Regions from separate parts of the Homo sapiens genome. Here region 1 is linked to region 2. The links are contacts of gene promoters, found by promoter capture Hi-C in blood cells and fetal thymus (Javierre and others, 2016). All regions are on one chromosome and are shown on one strand. The core of a region is centred on a gene start or on the middle of the fragment in contact, and the rest is flanking DNA. Distances in the headings are between cores, read along the strand shown.

What was found. Contacts are between HindIII fragments. The CHiCAGO score rates a contact against its expected background, and 5 or more counts as called.
Region 1: a contact is called between a fragment that was not itself captured here and the fragment with the promoter of TAFA5 in region 2, in 1 of 17 cell types (naive B cells). The highest score is 6.3, in naive B cells.

What each region holds. Positions count from the first base shown.
Region 1 is chr22:47,508,433-47,515,928 of GRCh38, reverse strand. No RefSeq gene overlaps it. Among named protein-coding and RNA genes, the nearest start is that of LINC01644, 25 kb to the right of the region's middle. The HindIII fragment of the contact is 6,744 bases long and covers 1-5,926 here.
Region 2 is chr22:48,487,458-48,494,083 of GRCh38, reverse strand. It overlaps TAFA5 (TAFA chemokine like family member 5), which reads right to left and starts at 4,531. Exons shown (of 4, transcript NM_001082967.3): 1 at 4,380-4,531. The coding sequence starts at 4,491. RefSeq lists an enhancer at 1,948-2,453. The HindIII fragment of the contact is 4,041 bases long and covers 2,139-6,179 here.

The sequences.
Region 1 (7,496 bases), core at 1,305-3,804, 980 kb after region 2:
TTGGTGAAAAACAAAAACACTTATATGTAAGACATCAGGGTGTCCAGCTCAATAGCTCCATCTACCCTTAAGCAGGGATAGTCATGTGGCTTTCTGGCCAAGGAGACAGAAGAAGTTGTTGAATGGGACCTAGGGAAGGGCATCCACTAGCAGGGCATCATTGTGTTCCCTTCTTTCCCCTGCTGCCCTCCAGTTCCCACAGTCATCTTGGACTCCAGGACCCTGTGAGGGTAAAGGCTAAGGGATCAGTAAGTGACTGTGAAGCCAGGACAGAGAAGCAGGGATATCATCTCCAGCAGCGTCATGAAGAGGCCATACCATCTCCAGAGGGCTGACATCTAAACTTATGTTACATGACTCAGCAAACTCTTATGCTACTCTCTCTTTAAATACATACGTAAATTATGTATATAATGTACAATATTTTTTTCCTTCAGAATTTCAAAAATGATTCTATATTTAGAGAATTCTAATTCTCAGAACAAATCCTGTTCTGCCATCACTTTATCATTATTGAGCTCTTAATTTGTTTCATCTGTTGCTTGACTGGCATATATCTCCAAATGATATCTAAAGAAGGTTACATAGGAATTGTGTGTGTGTGATTGTGTCTGTGGGTGGGGGGGTGGTGATTTTTTTTGTCCCTTCACACTTTAAAAGATCAATCAATCGAATCCAATCAAACCTGATTTCCAAATTACTGGATTATAAAGGTTTTATCTTCAAACCTCGGCAGAAGCAGTGGACACTGTTCTTCCTGACCCTTCCTTCTCTGTAAGCATGTTTTTTTGTAAATAGGTCACAAAATAGAGTCCCAGGAAGAATTGTTAGGACTCCAGGCCTAAGCACAGTTCTCTAAAAAAGCACCTGTGCGTACGACTCCCTCAAGCTGGAAGGCTGGGAGGAGGATTAGGACATAAGGGGTCCCTCCTTTGTTAGGACTTTCTTTCTTAACTCTACCTTAAGCTCACATGGAAACAAGCATCTCAGTAACCAGCGAGGTTCCACAGGTGCACGTAGAGCTGTTCGCATTGGGTGCAGTGGGTCTCATGAGGTATCCAAGGTTCTTCTGCAGGCATAGACTTGCAGTCTTGTATATGTCAGTATTTTGTGAGAAAAATCATTCATTCGAGGATGGGACAGTTCTCTCTGCAGCCAGCAGAGGCAGCAGCCTTGGGCTCAGTGCAAGAGTGTTTTTCATGGACAGGGGACACTGAGACTTCAGGGATCAGGGATCCCTCCTTTATTTCCCAGCCTTCCCAAGTCCACGTCCAATCCTACCTGTCTGGTGTGACCAAAAGACAGGTGTGTTTGCAAAAGTAAAGCAGAAAAAAGAAAGGAACATGTAAGATGCAGCTGATGTCATGAAAGTTAACAAGACCCTTAGAGAGAGAGGCAACCTATGGAAGGACAAAGCCTAGCAATGGCTTCAGGGCTGCGGGTGTGACAGCTTTGCTGGTTTCTCTCTGAGCTCTGAAGACTCTAAGTCTGTCTCCCACAGCCATATGAGCTGGAGAAACCTTAGGCTCCCACCAGGTTCAAGAAAATCAGACAGCAACTTGACCCACTTCCTGGTGGAAGACATTTCCCTGTTGGGTTATGTTCACAGTCCTGGAATCCAGGCAAGTGGAAGAAACTGAATGTCTTCACAAGTTTGAAACCAAGATCCAAGATTTTTTTTTCTGTTCTTTCTTCTTTGCTCTCTGGCTACCACTGTCACCTGCACCATGGCCCACCATAGCAGCAGTGGAGTGCCACTTTCCTTAGTAAACATGGTGGCTGACTGCTTCCAAATCTCAGCCCTGCAGGTGAGAGGCTGCCCAGGGGGCTCTGGGGCATCCTGCTCCCCCTCTGGAGTGTGAGGAGGTGGAACCACTGGAGCCTGGGTTCCCGTTCTCCCCACTGGGAAGAGCTGAAGGAGAAGCGTGACCCCATTGGGACCTGAGGTTCCTATTCTCTTCCACGTGGAAGTGCTGAAGTAATCTGCCCACTCCAGAGAATGTTTTGCAGATGGGTTCCTCACCAATACTCTGAAGGAGACCCTTCTGGCTGAGCTACAGCAGGAATTTCATTTGGGACTACAGTGGTTTGAATGGTGGCCCCAAAGAGATACATCCATGCCTCAATTCCTGAAACCTGTGCATGCAACTGTATTTGGAAATAGAGTCTTCGCAGATGTAATTAAGTTAAGAAATCTCAAGATGGGTGTTCATTTTTCATTAAGGTAGGCCCCAAATCCTTATAAGAGGAAAGCAGATTTGAGGCAGAGACACAGGAGAGAAGGCCACATGGAGATGAAGGCAGAGGCTGGAGTGGTGCAGCCATAAACCAAAAGATGCCAGGAGCATCAGAGGCTGGAGAAAGCAAGAAGGCTCTCCCCTGAAGCATCTACAGGGAGCATGGCCCTGCTGATTCCTTGGTTTCTGACTTCTGGCCTCCAGAATTGTGAGAGAATAAACTGTTGCTTTAAGCCACCATGTTTATGGTTAATTGTTACAGCACATTTAGGAAACTAATTCAGGGACTTCATGCATTGGTGGGAATGTATTAGTAAAAGTGAGTTCAAATTGTTCAAAGCTGGGATAATTTGTGCTGTCATTGGTAATGTTTGTGGAATTATCTCTGATCAGCTATAATAGGAATTAGAATACAGGGTTCATTTGGGGCTTGGCAGGCAGTATGGCCTTGGGGCTATACTAAGCTATACTCTTCTTTGACCCATTTTAGAAACAGTGGAGCACAGTAGCAAGATGGTGGGTGCTGGAACAGGGTCACCTGGTGTAAACCCAACTTTCTGCAAAGCAGGCAGTGGCAGAACCTTGAGCAAGTTAATTAATCATCTGTGTTTCAGTTCTATAAAGTTGGATGGTAGTATTTACCTTGTAATTCAAATAACACACACGAAAAACTTATAAGAATGTCACATCATTATAATTATGATCATTGTCATCAACACCATCACCATCATTATCATCATCACCATCATTAGCACCATCACCATCATCACCATCATCACCACCATCATCATCACCATCATTATCACCATCATCATCGCCATTATCAGTCATCATCATCATTATGATCATCACCATCAACACCATTGTCCTCATCACCATCATCATCATCACCATCACATCTTCATCACCATCATCATCATCACCATCACATCATCACCATCATCATCATCATCATTATTGCCATCATCATCACCATCCTCATCATCATCATCACCATCACCATCATCATCACCATCAGGACCTAAGTTGTTGACAACGTTGGACTTTACCTGAGCCCTAAGCTCCTGGAAAGCAATGAGTATTAGGAAATCATCTCACCCTTTTGTGTTCCAGGAAACTGCTTATGACAAAGAAGATCCCCTCCCCACATGACTCAGATAAGACTCATGGATGCTCCCTTGTTTACCTAAGACAAGGCCAGATACACCCTCCAAATTCTCATTCTGCACCTCTTAATGATAACCTGAACTGTTATCCCACTGATCAGTCAGAACAAAGTACTTGTTAACTGACTTGATTAAACTTTAGTTCAGCTCCTCCACTCCCTCAGGACCCGGAATGTTGAACCTCCTTCAGCCTGAGCCAGCAAACAGCCCCTCCCCAGAATTAGATGACTGCAAGGAAAGACTTTCCCCAACTGATCAACTCTGATCTCACCACCCACTCCCCCACACCCAATTATTTTTTGGCCTTGTCTGGTTCTCCCCATAAAAGAAAGTTTCTTTCCAACAGAACTTTGAGATGCCTGCAGCTATTACTGTCAGATTGTTCCCCCTACTGCAATAGCCCCCTTCCCTTTATCACAATAATCCTTTTGAATGAAGTCTCTCCTTAGTTCAATACACATTTGTTTTCATTTGACACTGTCTATTTTAGTGCTGCCTGTATGAGAAATGCGGAAGTATTGGGTCATGGTCTTCTAAAGAACTCCTCAGATTTATAGAGGTTTCTGGACTGGGAAATGGCTACATAGTCTTGGCTTTTAAGTCCCTCAAAGTTCAAAAGAAAGATATCTTCGTCCATTCAGGCTGCTATAAGAAACCACCATAGGCTGGGTGGCTTGTAAACAACAGAAATTTATTTCTCATCGTTCCGGAGGCTGGAAGTTCAAGGTCAGAGTGCCAGCATGGTTGGGTTCTGTGAGGGCCTCTTCTAGGTTGAAGACTGCCACCGTCTCACTGCATCCTCACATGGTGAAAGGGGCACAGCAGCTCTTTGAAGTCACTTTTATAAGGACATGAATCCCATTCATAAGGGGTCCACCCTCACAACCTCATCACCTCCCAAAGGCCCTGAATCCTAATACCATCAGGTCTCCATTTTCTCATTGCTTCAGCTCCCTTCTCAGTAGACTCAGTTATCAAGGATTTGGGGGACAAGAAGTGGGGGCTACCCTGCTCCAGCTCTCAGAGACACCTGCCCTGGGGACCACCATTCATCCTCCAGCTATCTTTTCTTGCACACGCTGCCCTGATGAGATCCTGCGCAGAGCAAGACTGGCTATAAGGTCTTGAAATTCCTAGGCCTTTGGCTTATTACCATAAAAACCAATTAACACACTTCATAAGCTGCTGGCAGAGGTGGTCCCATTGTCTTTGGGCATTAAATATAGCCAAGGAGAAATGTGAGGCCAAAAGAATGTGTGTTCATTTTGTCATAGTTTCTTTCTTCTCCTGAGATTTTTACCAAGTATTTTTTATCCTTAGAGTTTACAATTTTCACTGGATATGTCTCATTTAAAATGTAATGTGGTAAGCCATTTCTACCTGATAGATGAGCTGTTTCTTCAAGGCAGGAAACTCATCTTCCTTCTCTTCCATGTTTGCTTCAATTCTATGTGTTTAGGTGTTTCAACCAGACACAAATAGCCACATACTGGCTCTCCATCCTTTGTCTACCACATCTCAGGTGTTCTCTCATCTCTTGAACCAGTCTATTTTTTCCCCTTCCCACACTAAGCTGCTGCCCAGGAATTGGTTTGTGAGCAGCCATGTTTTATGTCAAGATATTTATTACCGTCATCATTTGTAGATGAAGCAAGTTGGGAATGGAGAAGTTACGAGCATTGCCTGTCTTAGTCATTTTCTGCTGCTATAACAAAGTACAACAAAATAGGTAATTTACAAACAATGGAGATTTATTTGGTTCACAGCTCTGGAGGTTGTGAAGTTGAAGAGCATGGTTCTGGCATCTGATCAGGGTCATCCCATAGAGAAGCATCATATGATGAGCTAGTGTGAGAGACAGAGAGAAAATGGGGGCTGTACACACCCTCTATCAAGAGCCCACTCCTGTGAAAATCAACCAGCTCCTGCAATAACTAACCCACTCCTACAACAATGACAACAATCCATTAATCATCTCTTCTCAACACTATTACAATGGCAATTAAATTTCAACATGAGTTTTGGAGGGTACATTCAACCCATAGCATTGCCCGGGATTAATTGGCTTATCCAAGCAGTATCAAGATGCTCAAAGGAAAGGAAACCATCAAATTCTCTCAAAATTGACAGAATTGCCATTGCTCCCCATTCTCTCTGGTTTTCCATCCACACTTGAACTAATGACAAACCCAAAACACCATGTCATCTCTTGGTCCAGTGGGAAAATGACCCCCAGGGGTCCACTGTAAATGCCCTGGCCTCTTCTGCTGAAGAACCTCCCATGGGGCTGCAAAGACTGGATTAGGAGGAGCAGAGGGACATTGAGATGACTCTGTCTGTTGTGTATATTGTCCAAGCACATCCAAGGTAATTAATAGGACCCTCTGCCTCTTGCTCCTCCCAGTGCACATATTCTAAAATGTCCTTCCAAACACTAAATGTACCAGACGGTGGCAAAAACAAAAACACCACACAAGTGATAGCTTATAGACTCAACCTGTTTTTCTTTCCCAGGCAGAAGCTTGTCCACACTTCAGCGCTTTTACAGCCTTTATTAAGAGAAGCGAGAACTCAGTCTATTTGATTTATAATTGAAAATCATAAACTATAGCATTCACCTGCTGTTCCCATGCGCTGGTGAAATGATACAAGGCTATTTCATCACTCAGCCTCGTAATTGGCATGAACCAACATCAGTATGCACCGTGGCGTTCCCAAAGGCCCACTAACAAGTTGATACAACTGCACAGGCTGGAGAGCAGAAATTTAGTAAAAATATTATTTGGTGCTGATTTGTTCTCTAACTCCTGCTTCATGAAGAGTCACCAGGGCGCACAAGGGCACTTCATTAGTAGGGTAGAGGAAGAGCCGGCCTGGGTCCAGTGTGCACATGTTGTTCTCAGACAACAATTTTTTGCTTGTCCAGACTTTAGTCAGGTTCTTGAATCACACACCAGCTGTGCACGTCCTTGAAAAATTCAAGTTTATCAAGACTCCCCCCATCTTTGATATCTGATCATCCTCACTATCTGACCCACTTCCTCATCCTCCACCATTCCCCGGGTGATGTCTGGTCACCCTGGCCTGTCCTCAGCAAGAATCCTGTTAGGTCACTTTAGGCAGAATCCCCTGACCCCTGATGTTTCCTCCTAGTAATTTTCCATCCATTCCCTCCCACCCTGCTCCTTGGCTATAAGTTCTCAATTCCCTGTGCTGTATTTGAAGTTAAGCCCAATCCCTTTCCCACTGCAAAATCCCATTTCAGTGGTCCCTATAGCTATCTCAGTGGTTCTGAATGCTTTATCAAGTGGCGTTGAATATTTTTTCTAATTTTTAACACCCCCCAGGAGCCCTTTCCTCTGCTGGAGGGAGGCAGGCAACAGCTCTACCCTTGGCCATACATTGACTTCAGCCTAGACCAGGTCTAGGTGCTGCCTCATGCACCACCATCACCGGGCCTGAATGGAACCCACTAGAGCTTATAAGGCTAGAGAAGACATGGTCTTGACCCTCAAAGAGCTCTCCTTTGGGGTCTGAGGACATGGCCAACCTGGCATGGTTGTCCTGCTGAGCACCTTTCCGCCTCATCCACAGCCTCTTCTGGACCAGGCTCCAGGGACACTGAGGTAACTCAGACAGAGACCCTGCTGTCCCCTCAGGGCTCCTAATTGGGGTATGGAGAGCACATTGTGGGGAGTGCATCACAGGGGCAGAAGTAGTTAAAAAAGTAGCCCAGACAAAGATTTGGCAGGGTAGAGTCAGACTACTTTTAGCCCTGTCTCTCCAGAATCTCCATTAGGTGTGTCACGACCATTATCAGCTGCCAAAACCCAACCACAATGAGTTTATGAAAGGGCAGTAGGCCCACCCTAAGGCTGGGACACAGGGTGGTGAGGTAAACTACAGGGAGCCCTTCTGGTATTGTCAGGTGAAAGTAGAGGCTGGGATGCTGCTTAGAAACTGGGGCGGCCTCTTTGTGTTGCTGGTCACAAATGTTCATTCATCCCACATTAATACAATAGAATCTTTTGAATAATGTATTTAATCAGCAAAAAGAAGCATGAAGCCAAGAAGTATTGTGTATACGTATGAG
Region 2 (6,626 bases), core at 3,282-5,781:
AGCTGGGGAGCCTGGTATGGAAGAGACCCATCAGGTGGAGCCTCCTTCTTGGGTTCAAGTGTCCTCTGGCCTCAGGGAGGTCCAGCAGGGACACCTGTGTGGACAGTGGAAGAGTGGAGACCCCCCTTCTGGCCCTATCTCAGTGAAAGAGCAGGGGTGGAAGGTGGGAGGGGACAGTGGGGCACCGCCAGGATCACCAGGAGTAAATGCGGCTCTCCAGGGCACTGTCTAGAGCCGCTGGGAAGTCCCTTCCCCCAGGGGTCCCTTCGGAAGTCCCTTCCCCCAGGGGTCCCTGCGTGGGAAAATCCTGTGAGGGGACAAACCTGCCTCTTCCTCACTGAGCCTAGGGCATGGATGTCGGCTAAAAGAAATCCCAGAGACAGATAATTTATATTTATGGAGCTGAAAAAAAACAAACATCCCATCTTCTTGTGCCCCAAATTCATCAAATAAAAACACAGTGAGAATTTTTTCAAAAAAAGATGAGAAATAAACTTCTGAACGGCACCACTTCATTAAGCCTCCACTGTTTTCCATTTTACCTCTTCGAGAACTCCAGAACAAAATTTGAACAGCAGGAAAGTAACATATTCTAATCGCTCCTAAATATGCAATAAATTGTATTTATAAAGGAAATGCAACACTACAGTGCCTACGCTCAGTTAGGATTCTAATGGATTCAAAACAATTCCAAAGTTGTTTGTAATTTCTTCTCATAGTTATAGATGAGGACATGAGATTTAACTGGAAGGTACAGCTCAATATTGACGGGATTTATTTGGAAATTTCCATGTCCAGCACATAGTGAACCTGTCTGTCTTCCTCACTCTCCCTGGTACGCTGAAATATAGTCTGGGTCCCCACCATCCACCTGCTCGTGCTGAATAGGGCACATGGAATCTAGGCTAGTGCAGAGTGTCCTTCACCTTTGATTTCAACGCTGCACACAAGGACCGAGTCAGTGCTTAGGTGTCATAGGGAGTTGCCCCAGGTCCTCATTTGCTTCTCTCCCTTGCTGCTGTTCTATCCTAGATGCCAGGGTGGAAAGATCACATCTTCAGCGGCGGGCACAGAACACCCTCAACCAGCTCTAGCTGGGTCAAGAGGTCCCATTCCACATCTAGGCAAGAACCACATCTAGGCAGACAGACTTCTCTACTCCAAATACGCTAAGGGGAAAACAACCTATATCAACTCTTTTTAAGCCACACCCAGAGAGGTTTCCTCAGACCAGAATGGAGAAGAGCTTCAACTTCCCCATCAAAGCTCATCATCATGCAAGTCAACTTATTACCAACCATCCAACAACCCTCATGGGCAGCACCGGCCGCGGAGGAAACCAAGCCTGCTGTCACCGTGATGGTCGCAGACCACCGAGCATGCATTTTAAAGTGAGCCATCCAGGGCCCCTTTCCCCTGTTTGCGTCTCCTGGCACTTCTTCCCCAGGAGGAGAAAATGACAAGGCTGTGTCACTATAGCAACTAGCCTAATTGGTGGACTGCAGGTCTTTCTCCGGCCAGACGGTGGAGCCCATCTCCTTCTATATGGATCCCAGCACACGAGAAAGAAAGAAGGCCGGACTCTCACTGGGCCAAGAACAGTAGAATCCCCCCAACAGAAAACCAGGCCAAGAAAGAATCCAGTTTCCTCCTAGCTGCACTAGGAAGCCAGCACCTTATGTGTTGCAGAGAAACACACAGATTTAATAGGCAGGATAATTGAACGCTGTATGATACTTATCAGTTTCCCTAATTAATATGATACAAATATATCTGCTTCATAACACAAAGACATTTTGAGTAATAAAAATCCTTACTGATGACAAAAACAATTTACAAACGAGAATACGAACTATTCTTCTTCATCCCAGATCTATTGGAAGAAAGAATGAAAATCCTAGGAACTGTTTAATTTGCATTTAATTTGCTTTATCGGTTCTGAAAAAAGGGGGGGGGATTTTTTTTCTCTAGGACTGCAGTTCCAAGCTATAAATTATTATTATGTCTATTTTGTATTTTAGTGAAATGTTTTAATTTCTCCAAGTACATTTCTGGTGTAATGGGGTGTGTCTCTTATTGTCAATTATTCCATTACATGGAGATGGAAACAGCCATAAAAAATGTGCTTCACCCAAGCTTCTGTTATTAATTATTTCTGCTACTCTGGTAAGACCTTCTTACCAATTGTCCTTGTCCTGGCGAAAGGCTGTTTCCAGAACGCTGGGGAGGCCTCCTAAGGAGGAGGGATGAGTGTGGAAACCAGATCTCCCATCCTCAGCGTGTCTAAGCAGCAGGCTCAGATGTCTGTGCTGGGACACCAGGACTCCACTCGGCAGAGCAGGCGACAGTCTCAGGAAGGTGTGAGCCCGTCCGGATGAACAACGTGCTGACACCTTAGGATTCAGGATGCAGCGCAGGGTGGGAGAGGGCTGACGCTGCGTGTCTTGAGACAGTGTGTACCGCGCTCCTCGCGGGCTCGGGAAGTGCGGTGTTGAAGCCACAGGGCCCTGGTGTCAAGTACTTCGCAACAATTAGCAGTTGTTCTTTTCCACACCTGCTGAGCTGCTGGGGGTTGGGGGTGAGGTGTTGTCCTGGGTTCTAGCAGCCAGCCAGGGATGGGCCGCCTGTAGTGGGCTCAGGGCACTACAGCCCCTCCCCAAACACTGCTGAATGAGCCCCCTCTCCCTCTCCTCTCCTCTCTCTCCTCTCCTCTGGGGTGATGCCACCAGGAAGTGCATTCAAATGCCTCCTCTTCCGCACAGAGTTTACCTGCCATTAACCCTTTCTACATCTCCTAGGAAGCCTTGCTTGGGGATCTTCTAGGGAATCCCCCCACATACCCCTGCAGGCCCCGTGACGGCCGCGGAAAACTCGGGGGCAGGCACAAATGTCGCTCAAACCCCCAGACCCTGCTCCCTGCAGGCGGCCAGCCAGTGAGTTCCCAGGGGCGCCGGCGCACCCACGGTGGCCTCGTCTGCCTGGGCAGCTCGGGTTGAGACCCCCAGGCTTGGCGACCCCTCCCCGCTCGGTGCCACAGCATTTCTAGGGAAATGCATAACCGCGCTGAAGCAAGTAGGAAAATTCCTGCTCTGGTCCCCGGGTTTCCCTTGCGATCCTGGCGAGCTGGGCTGTCCCAGGACTCCGGAGGCCGATCCCGCGGCTGCCCGGGTCTCCCTGGGCCACTGTGCTCTCATTTTGGCGACAGCGGAAGGATCAGATCGGACTGGGAGCTTGGAGGCCCGGGGCTCTGGAGGAGGTGGTGTCTGTGGAGGGAGGTTCGGTGCTGGCCTTTTTTTTTTTTTTTTGTAAAGAATCCATATTTTTCCATCACCTCCCGCGCCCATGGCAATTCTCCATGACAGGTGCTCCCCAGCACCCGTCCTATTCTCCCGCTGAAGACAAGAAGCCCGGAGCTCCCGGAGCTGAAGCCGACCAGCCCGCGCCATCTGGGGCCAGAGCCTGTGCCCGGGACGCTGAGCGGCCCCCACTTACCCCACCAGCCGCGAACGTGCCCCGGGATGCTGAGCACCCTCCCCAGCGCCGAGGCTGGAGTCTGCACCCGGGACTCCAACCACCCCTCATTCCACCCGCCTGGAGCCTCGGCAGGGGCACAGGCCACCCCCCACCCTTCACTCCAGGCAACAGGGAGCCCGCGGCGGTCACCCCCTACCCCAGCCCTCAGCTCACGCCCGGGCGCCCACTGGCCCGCACCACCCCAGCCCGCGCCCGCGCCAGTCCCGCCGGTCACCAGCTCGGGCCCCAGACACGACCCGAGAAACGTCCGCGGCCGCGGCGAGCCCCCTCCGGGCATCCCATCCCTCACTTCGCTTCTCTTTCCAGAAGGCGCCTGACGAGCCCGTTTCCCGGGAAAGCGGAAGCTCCAGCTGCTCCTCCGAGCCCAGGCTGGGCTCCTGCCTGAAGAGCTCCTCTCCGGGCTCGGCCGCCGCCTCCCCCCTTGTCCCGGGCTGAGGCACGGGGAGGGCGCTCCGCAGACACCCCGGCAGCGCCGCCCGCCCTCCGCGACCTGCGGCTGCCTCCTGAGCGCGCATCTCGGCCGGGAAGCCGCTGGCTGGGCTCCGACCGCCGGGCAGGGACGGGCCGCGCCACCCGGGGCCTGGAGCCCGGGCCCTGCCGGGGAGTCAGGGAAGGGAGGCTCGGGCCGGGGCGTCCGACCCCGAAGTGCTCGAGCGCCCGGAACCCGGGTGGACCCTCTCGCCCGCCCAGCGCAGCGTTGGACCGGCCGGGACTCGGGGGACCATGCGCCCGGCGCTCGTAACTCCGCGCCGACTCCGGGAGGCCCGCGGGGCGCCTGCCGGGGCCGGAGGAGGGGGTCCGGGGCCCAGAGGGCCGTGCCGGGGCCGGGGCCGCGCGGTACTCACTGCAGTAGGCGATGAGCAGGCTGGCCAGGATCATGAACGCCCAGAAAGTTGAGGACATGCTGGGCAGGGCGGTCGCATCTTGCCGGCTGCCGGTCCTGGGCGATGGCGCCATTGAAGCCGCGGCGCCCGCGCGGGGGGCAGCAGCGCGTCTCAGCAGCCGGCCCTGCCCGCGCCCCCGCGCCGGCCTCCACGTGCGGGCCCCGCGCGCGCCATCCTCCGCCGCCGCCGCCGCCGCGCCCGGGCCCCGGCCCACCGCGCCCCGCGCCGCGCCCGCGCCGCCCGCGCTCGCGCCCGCGCCCGCCGACCCCGCGCCGGCCCGCCAGGGGGACGCCGGCCCCGCTCTGGGCGTCACTGCGCGCCCCGGCTACGCGCGCCCCGGCATCCGCGAGAGAGGCGCGCGCCCGCCACCGCTGGGGGCTCCAGCCGCCCGCCGACCCGGGCCTGGCAGAGGGGACGCGGCGCCCAAGCCGCTCCTCCGGATGGCGACAGAGACGGCCTGACGCGCCCGCAGCCTGGGCCCCCCACGGGGAGGACGGCCGGGCCAGGTGAAGTTCGCGCACTTGGGCCTTCCGCGCCCCCATCCACCGCAGCCAGGGCCTGGAAGGCTGGGGAGGGGGCGGGGGCGGCAGACGCCTCCTAAGGTGGGTTCTGGGACTTGGATCCGGAGTTTATTCCAAGGAGAGGGTGCTCTGGGCCTGTTCCCTAGGTGTGCCCTGTTACCCAAAATCGGGCTTGTGCAGTGGGGTCCCTGAGTCCACTGGGAGCACAGCCTCAGACCCCAGCAGAGTCACCCTTCATCGGAAGCCCACCACCCTGAGGGCTCCTCCTCCACCTGGGGCGGCACTGCCAGGCACAGGCACGCACTTTCCCTCAGTCCTCTGCCCCACGATCACTCTACTCGGGCACCTCTGCCACTGCCTGGTCCTTGCTGAGCCATCTCCTGGTTCATCTCCCTGGAGTCCCTGCAGGACCGGCTCTCAGTGGCGTCTCCGGGCTCCCAGTCCCAGGACTGGTCCTATCCAGGTGGGTTTTCTGAGCAGGATGACAATGATCGCAATCTATTTTACCTGCATAGTCAACGATCATCTGCAAGACAGGTTCACTCCTATAACAAGCAAAGGATGGGGGGAAAATGAGCCTTGTAAGGACACAAGGACACTTTCCCCATCTCCAACCCTCCTAGTCATGTCCCCTCTGCACCTCCCTCTACAGCCCAGGAGATACGCTCCCCAGTCCAGGATGTCCAGATGGCCCTGCTGCCTGGAGAGGCTCTGGCCCCTGCCGGTAGCTGCCACAGCACCACCCCAAGCTCTGCCTTCCTGCAGGTTCGTGCACACGACTAATAGAACCCCTCCTCTGGAACTCACAAGATATTCTCCATCCTGCATAGGGCTGGGGGCTTGAGCACCCCAGGAGATTCTTTTGGCGCTGGAGACCCTTTTCTGAGGAGCCAGTAGAGGGCCTGCAAGTCAGATTGAGCAACCAGGGAGAAGAAGCATCATCCCTTCATCTTGAGGCCTGGTCCAGGGAGGTGAAGGGATGTGGACTGTCCCCAGCCGTACACTCACCCACAACTCATGCATGCAAGCATTCATGCCCCAATGCACACACAGCACCACACACACACATATTTTCCTTGAATCTCTCTCTCTCTCTCTCACACACACACACACACACACACACACACACACTCTCCCATCCACACACACACAACACTTTAGGAGAAACTGAGCAAAGAAAGGCAGCCTCTCACTGCGAGTCCTCTAACCCCCGTCCCAGTGGTTGTTGTGCACTGAAGCTTCCTTGCCAGGGGCTCTGACGGGATTCTTGTGTTAATATGATTGTGTCCATGCTTGTTTTCTCCCATCAATTTTGAATCCTGTTTAATTAAAACGCTGACTTTCCTGTTTAGTATCTTCTCAACTGCAGCTTCTCCCCGCTCTCTTTCCTGGCAGGGAGGTGATTCTGCAGAAGTTGGGGCTCCTGACAACTTTGGGGTGGCCATGAGGGACGTACCTCTTGCCTCTGGATGTGCAGGGTGGGCCTGGGACCCTGGCAGGGAGGGGCTCCCTCAATGGGATTCTGTGGAGTCAGCCATTGATGCCCAGGTCTCCACCCTTACAATTTCATTCCTTTCATTGAAGCCTTTTTTCCTGCTAAAAAGGATGTGGCTTTTAAAATGTTACAGATTCCAATTCATCCTGTCCATCCCGAACTCCTGTGCCAGACATTCCTTCATTCAACCTC